Regions from separate parts of the Homo sapiens genome. Here region 1 is linked to region 2. Evidence: promoter capture Hi-C in 16 types of primary human blood cells and fetal thymus (Javierre and others, 2016). All regions are on one chromosome and are shown on one strand. The core of a region is centred on a gene start or on the middle of the fragment in contact, and the rest is flanking DNA. Distances in the headings are between cores, read along the strand shown.

What was found. The method cuts DNA at HindIII sites, captures the fragments that hold promoters and counts their contacts. A CHiCAGO score of 5 or more calls a contact.
Region 1: a contact is called between a fragment that was not itself captured here and the fragment with the promoter of NELL1 in region 2, in 1 of 17 cell types (M2 macrophages). The highest score is 6.1, in M2 macrophages.

The regions. Positions count from the first base shown.
Region 1 is chr11:21,518,441-21,522,112 of GRCh38, forward strand. The region is part of intron 15 of NELL1 (neural EGFL like 1); the gene reads left to right. Among named protein-coding and RNA genes, the nearest start is that of NELL1-AS1, 260 kb to the left of the region's middle. The HindIII fragment of the contact is 2,055 bases long and covers 876-2,930 here.
Region 2 is chr11:20,667,890-20,672,136 of GRCh38, forward strand. NELL1 (neural EGFL like 1) reads left to right here and starts at 1,697. Exons shown (of 20, transcript NM_006157.5): 1 at 1,697-1,889. The coding sequence starts at 1,835. The HindIII fragment of the contact is 10,998 bases long and covers 1-4,247 here.

The DNA of each region.
Region 1 (3,672 bases), core at 653-3,152, 850 kb after region 2:
TGAATAATGCAGACTATTGGAATACTCAAAGTAAAAAATGTGGACCTGTCTTTAAAGGGATAGGTTTAACATCATGAAGAATAAATTAAAAATCAAATTGTATTCCTCCTTTTAAGCCGGAAAATAAAGCATCATTCAGAATAGAATTCTTAAGTTCATAAAGCAACTAAGGATTAGATATAATGGCATAAGGGAAGAAGTGAAACGTAGTCCCTTTGCTCCCTGGCCACCACCAGGCTTGTAGTTTGGTGGGAGTGACAGTGTGATCTACTGAGAGGTAGAGTAGCCTCATAAAGTTTTGTATTCAGAGAAAAGCAAGCCTAAAACTTAGAATACCATGTAACTAGATATGTTGCCTTATGGAAATTATTTAATATCTTTCAGACTTGTTTCCTTTAGCTGTAAAATAGAGATAAAAATATTCCATTGGTTGAATTTATTTTGGCTGGAAGTAATAGAAATCTCAAGTAATTGTGACTTAATAATAAAGTCTTTAATTCTCTCTCATGACATGAATTCTGGCAATATGTAGCTCCAGGGTTGGTTCAGCAGCTCAATGACATCAAAGGCCTAGTTTGGTATTTCTGTGATTTAATTGGAATTTTTCCCATAAACTAAAGAAGGCTGTATCTCTCTAGTCCTCACGTTCTCCAGCCAGCTGACTACACAGAATGAACATAGTAGGAATTCTGTCATTTAACCATGAAAGTCAACCCCACTGCCACTCCATCTCCAGCAGACTTCTCCTTACTTCTCATTAGCAAGAACTTGGTCACATGCCCTTATCTAGACAGATCACTGGGAAAAAGGATGAAAATTCCATTATTATTATAGATATGTGGTTCTCAAAGTAGAGTTCTCAGATGATTCTGGCAAGCTTGTTTAAATACAGACTACTGGGTTCTACCCCCAGAATTTCTAATTTAGTATGTTGTGTGGGACCAGATAATTTTCATTTATAATATGTTTCCTGCTGATGTTAATGGTGCTAGTCTGAGGACCACTGTTTGAGAACCACTGATTGAGACCAACAGTGATTTACCCCTTGGGCTAGGAGATAGGCTTCCTTTTGTTTGTTTGTTTGTTTGTTTTGTTTTGTTTTTTGTTTTTTTTTTTAGATTAAGAGGGCAATACTCTTTATGCAAGCAAGTCAAGGTTCTTCTAATTGAAAGTGAATGTGTGGGAGGTGGAAGGTGTATCACTCAGGGTAGAGCAGAAAGACAAAATCTGTATGGTGCCTGCCCCCAGGATGAAGGATGGGGAATGTACAGCCGCTACCACTCTACTGGCTAAAATTGACTGAAACGTACCTGGAAGCCTTCCCCTGGAAGTTGCAAGCCTTCAAATAGACTCCAGAGTCCTAAAATTGTTATATCAGGCAGATTCTGCCAGTGTAATTATAGTCCAGGTTGGGAGAGAGATTCCTGGTGCTGACTCCTCTGCTATTTTCCCAGAATCCTCAGAGGTATCTTTCATACATAGTTCATAAGATGACATTGACACCTTTTTAATTTACCTTCTTGACAACAATAAATACCCATATCAATCGCTTTGGGAAAAACAACAACAACAACAACTTTGATCTGGCACTAATAGGAGAAGAGAGATATGGAAGGTGCCCTTTAGACAGAGGAGCATTCCAAAGGAAAACACACACGCTGTCAAAGTAGCATGATTTCTTCCGCCAATACATCCATCTCACAATATGCCGTAGGACTGACATAAAAAGAGGCCTAAGGGACATCTGTGGATTTTGTCTCACCAGAATTCAGTTCCTATCCTAGTAAGGGCATTCCAATAGTTTCTGAGGAACAACCCCTTCTAAATTCTCAGTTTAAGATATCTCAAGTAGTGCTGATTTTACCTCTTGCTCTAGGGGTGGGCTGGTAACCAGACATGAACCCAGTAACTACTTCAGGACTCATCATGTAACCAAATCAAGATGAATGCGGCTCAAATCCTAGATTTGTGCCAGTACTATTGATAAGAATCTCTCCCTTTGACAGATTTAAAATGATGTTTGCCTAGAACATCTGGAGGCCATTACATGAAGAGGTTCTGGCCTATAGGGGTGGTAATATGATGATGATAAGAGTGGAGATACAGAGGGAGCCTAAATCCTGATAATATTGCTTAGTTGCATGGATCCCATAGAGTCTAGAGCCCCAACACTTGTACATTTTGTGAGCCAATATGTTTCTTTTGGGAGAGGAGAGGTAAGCAGGGTTAAGGTGTCACTTACAACAGAGGGCCCAGTGTCTAAAGGTGCATCAGCACCCGCTTAAGATTCAAGTGCTCAGCCCCGGCCCCTCCCCATGCACCTGCTCCTTACCTCATGCTGACCTAATTTCTATTCTCCCAGATCTGTATTCCCTGACCACTCCTCCAACATTTGTCCTTGACTCCTTCCTTTGGTTTTGATGTGCAGAAACATTTTTTGGTCTCTCATTTGTTTCTAATTTAAAAATAAATGCATCTGGCTATCCTGCCTCAGGGCAAATTTAGAAATATTTCTTTCAGTTCAATAGAGTCCTATGGTTACCCTTATGTTGGTACTAATCCTATCTCACATACCCTATTCTGGGGGTAGGACCAGATGTAGGGTAAAAATCTATGTACCTGACTTTTACTGGTTTCTTACAGATCTAAAGTTATGGCTTTATACTTTTCTCTCTTTTGAATGTAAGTATTACAGCTACACATTTGTTTCTAGGCACTGCTTTAACTGGTTCCCACAGATTGTAGCCTGTTGTTTAATAATATCATTCAGTCCTAAATATTTTATATTTTCCTTGTAGTTTCTTCTTTAATTCATTGGCTTTTGGAACTGGTGTAATTTCCAAATATTTGTACCTTTTCTAAATATCGTATTTTGATTTGATATCTGTTTAATTCTGTTGGGACCAGAAAACACACTCTGTAAGATTTCAAGCTTTTGAATTTTGGGGGGATTGTTTTATGAACAAGGATTTTTTCCATCTTGGTCAACATTCCACACGCACTTGTAAAAACTGTTTATGCTACAGTGATTGGGTATAATGTTCAAGAAATGCCAATATTGTTCATGTCTTCTATATTGGTGATTTTTTTTGGTGTATCAATTGCTGAAATAGAGGTTAAAATCTCTAGATTTGTATTTTTTTCCTTTTGGTTCTTTTATTATCATTTCATGTGTTTTGAAGTTTTGCCATTAAAAATTATATATCAATTGCTGGATCAAATTGTAGTTTTATTTTTAGTTCTAGTGTTTTTCATAGAGGCTGTTCTAATTTACATTCCCATCAACAGTGTATAAGTGTTCCTTTTCTCTGAATCCTTGCCAACATTTGTTAATTTTTGTCTTATTAATAATAGCCATTCTGATTGGTGTAAAATGATATCTTGTGGTTTAATTTGAATTTCTCTGATGATTAATAGCCATGAGCATCTTTTCATATACTTTTGGTCATTCATATGTCTACTTTTGAAAAATGTATATTCATATCTTTTGCCTACTTATTAGTGAGATTGTTTGATTAGTTGTTGGGTTGTTTGTGTTCCTTATAAATTCCGGATATTCGTTTCCTGTCAGATCCATGGCTTGCAAATATTTTCTTCCATTCTGCAGACTGTCTCTTCACTCTGTTGTGCCCAAAGGAAAAAAGCCATTATATCAAAAAGATACCTGCCTGT
Region 2 (4,247 bases), core at 447-2,946:
TCTGAGTTGGAGTCAGCTGACATCAGTTTACCTCTTAATCATTCAGCTCAACTTCTGGATTGTGCAGTAGACTTCTTGAGCTGGAATTTACCTGCTTGTTCACTTTCTTTTTCATCTGCCAAAGGACCACAACATAAAGGGCCAAATGGGACAGTGGCTTGCACACAGAAATATCCAGAAAAATAGGGCAGAGACCAGAACAGCATGCTAGTAAAGCCTTCTCTCTTAATAAGCTGCGCTGATTTGGTGAACTTCACTGGGGCTCCTGGGGTCAAAGTTGTGTAGGGGTTAAGGATATAGGAAGTGAAAGTGGGTGCAAGTGAGAAGGGCACGTTCTTATTAGTGAAGAGGATTCTGAAACGTTGGAATTGGTTTCCAGGAAACGAGGGACGGCTGTTCTGAGGTTTCCTTGGACTCCTCTGGGATCCCTGTTGTGAATATCAAAGGAGTACTGCTGGTGAGGGGGAGCGGGGGCTTCAGAGAGAGTGGGAAGACTGAGCAAGCTAAGTGGAGTTCATTTGGTATAAATCAGAGGCTGTCATTTCAGATTTCATGACTCTACATATCCAGTTATAAATAACGTTCCTAGGTGTTAGTAGGACAAATAGGAAGTGGGACAGAAGTCTTAAATTTGGGGGATCTTCATAGGGAAGGTCAGGTCCTGAAAGGGTCGCATAGAGGGGAGAGGACCCATTCTCTTCTTGCCGGCAAGTAGAAAACAAAGCCCAGCCCAGCTTTTCTCTCCAGAGAATGTTGTGGTGGGAGAGGGAAAAGAAGGTGGAGGTCCCGGAGGAATTGCACATGGGGCCAAAATGTGACTATGAAAGAAGAGTGGGCTTTTGATAATACCATTAAGAAAATCACGCAAGAAAGAAAAAAAGATGGTTAGGAATTACCCCTATGTGGCAGCATCTGCCCTGCAGAATGAGAAGGTTTGCAAATAGACTTCCCAAACCCCAACCACAGCTCGCTCCGCCTCGAGGACCCCTTTTCTGCACCCCCACCTCAGCGCCCTCTTCCTGCACCCACAAAGAGAGTACTCAGTCATAGGGGTTCAACAGGAGAGAGGAGACAGAAGGTACAGGCGGTGAGCAGGGACTCAGCCATCATCCCCCTCAGGTCCCTCCCCACCCAGTTGACAGAGCGAATCCCGAGTAATTGTTTTCCGAGGGGGTCCGTGCGCGCTCGGTGGCGCCGCCTCGGTCTGGGTTCCCCCGAGGAAAAATACCCACCCGCGAGGGCTCGGCGGCTTTTCGACTCGGCGGGGATGAACTGTGGCAACTTCGGCAGCCCCCACCGCGGTGCGGAAGTAAAGAGGGCAACATTGGCGACTGCGGCTCGGAGGGGCTGGAGCGCGTGAAGCCGTGGGGGCGCCGTGCGCCTCCCGCTCTCTCGTTTCGGCCGCAGGTCCTGGGACTCCGACTTCGGTGCTCCGGGTGATAGCGGCTGCGGCGCCTGCAGTCCAGATCCTCGCAGTTCTGCGGGCGAAGGAGGCGAACGGAATCGGCCCCCAGTGGGGAGCGCAACAAGCCACAGTAGCCAAACCCCGCGCTCCTGCCCGGGCTCCCAGACGAACGCAGCCGCAGCGGGGGGCCGGGCCCCGAGCCCCACGCCGCCGCCGCCGCGCCAGCGGTGGGGGGCGGGCTGGGGGCGGGGCGGCCGGGGCTGCCTTCCCGGGCGCATATGCGAGCGCAGCACCCGGCGCTGCCGAGCCACCTCCCCCGCCGCCCGCTAGCAAGTTTGGCGGCTCCAAGCCAGGCGCGCCTCAGGATCCAGGCTCATTTGCTTCCACCTAGCTTCGGTGCCCCCTGCTAGGCGGGGACCCTCGAGAGCGATGCCGATGGATTTGATTTTAGTTGTGTGGTTCTGTGTGTGCACTGCCAGGACAGGTAAGCATGACTGTGGCGGTTAGAGGGATCCGGGAAATGGGGGTGCCCACAGACCACGGCGGCGTGGGGAGACCTGGAGCCGAGCTTTGCGCTGGTCTGGGGAACGGCGGTAGCGTGGACCGGTTCCTGGGATCTCTTTGCCCTGCTCGGAGTGACAGGGTGAAAATAGGGACTCACGGGCTTGAAGATGTCCCCGTTGAGTGCCCCTTCTCAGGGGACCCGGCCTCAGGGGCGCAGGAGTGAGGGGCGCGGCCGAGTAGGCGCACCCTCTTGCTGCTAGTAACCGGCTTTCCGTCCCAGGGAGTCGAAACCCGCAGCAGGGCGGGCCCGCGTGCCCCGAGTTCCCGAACTTGTAAGGTGCTGTGGAAACCACTCTCGCCGACCCCCGCCAGGCTGGGAAGGGGTAGCTGCGGGAGTCGCACCCGCAGAGGGAGCGCTTCCGGCTGGCGGGCGCGGCCGGGGCCCGGGAGGGCGCGGTGCGGCGAGGGCAGAGAGCTGCGGGAGAACCCTGGGATCCCGCGATCTCCTCCTGTGCCTTCCTGACTACCCAGGAGAACTCCAGGAGTATTCTCCTCCGCCTGTCTTTGCTCCCAAGGGCTGGGCGAACAATTATCTGAGGGAAATAGAGCAGTGGAGACAATCTGGGGAAATTTTCTCAAGCTCAAACCAGTTTTCTCTTGCCATAATCGCAGGGTTCCGTGTGGGGAGGGGGGAGCAAGGATGACGCTTGATTGTCTGAAGTCCCCACTTCGTTCTGCCTCCGGAGACGCAGTTGTGAGGACTCTCAGCGCATCTTCTTCCTTCTGCTTCCACCGGCTCCCTTGCCCAAAAGTCCCCTGGGGTTCGGAGACTGGCTTGCAGCCGCCTTCTTCAAAGAGCTAGTAGTAGATGCGGGGAGACTGGGGTGAGGTGAGGTGGGGTGAGATGTAGGAAATTGGCAAAAATAGGGCCTGTCAACTGGGGGGAGTGTCGGAGGTTTGCAATCCTACCCAGCCATCCTCCGTACGCGCTGCACCCCAGAATCTGTGTGGTCATTCCCTTTCCCTTTATTCTCCCCCCTTTACCATCCTTATTTCCTTCTTTAGAGGCGTGGCCTTCTCTCTAGGCCAAAGAGCAAGTTCATCTGGAGAGGGCTAAGAAGGGGCGTCTGCACTTGGTTGGCTCAAAAGTTCCCTCCGCTTGCGCCCAGGCGCCCCTCTTTGGCAGTTAGCCCGCTGGAAGATCTAGCGTCTAGGAGCTTTCAGAGGGCCCTTCCCACTTCCCCAGGACTGAGCAGGCAGCGGCTTTCGTCTGGTTAAGAATGTTGAATATGGATTTCTCAAGGGACAAAAGAAACCTCCCATTCCGTTCCTTACCTCTATCCGAGCTTCCCAGGCTGCGGAGACGCCAAGGCTCAGTCTAGCTTAGAATAGTTGCTTCTTGAGTTCAGGCCCATCCGGATGGGTTAGTCTTTTAAAACCAGGACACGCTGAAGGAGTGCGCGCACCCCAGGAAGATCAGGACAGGCAAGACTAGTGCAGAGCGTGGGCTACTGGCTCTGAGCGCGAGAGTCTGGTGCTCGTGGACATCTTACAGAGGAACCGCAGACAGGAAGAAGCTAGGTAGGGAGGGGGCAACCCGTTAGTGAGTTCACATCCCTAAGTGCACATCACTACGGAATATGCCTAAATCCTTTGTTCTCATTACTCCTTTGAAAAGTCGCCAAAGTACCCTTATCACGGAATGGAACGTGTTTCAGGGTTCATTGCTTGTGGAAGGGGTCTTTAAGAACAGGTATTTTCCCTCTTTCCACTTCCAATCCCCTTTAAATCTTGTAAAAATTTCGTTGTAGGGGAAGATTCATTCATGTCTTTACTCATTCAACAAACGATGTCTTGCTGGGTGCCAGGATTTCTTATGCAAAGAGGAAATGACAGTCCTTGACTTCTAGGAACTTAAAGCTCAGCTGGGAATCTAGATAGAAACTGGCAGGCATTTTAATTTTACAGATTGATGGGGGGGGTGGTGGAGAGGTAGGAGTATAAGTTTGTATTAAGGAAATGTGGAGGAGAGACAGTTTGAATTAATTCTAGGGAGGAGTGGTGGTCAGGGATTTGAGAGATGTACCTTCAAGGCTTTCTAGGGAGTTTTCCAGGTGGACAAAGTGGGAAGGCATTCTTGGCAGAGGGAGCAGATTCAGCAAAGGCAGGGAAGCATGGAAGGATCTGACCCACTGGTTGTGGCTGTTGCCTAGGGAGCTTGGGTTCTCAATGTCACTTGGCACTATTTGAACACTAGAGGCCGCATATTTCTTCTACACACATTATCGGAAGAATCAGAGAGACGGGGGAATTACCTCTCAATTTGTACACTTAAAGT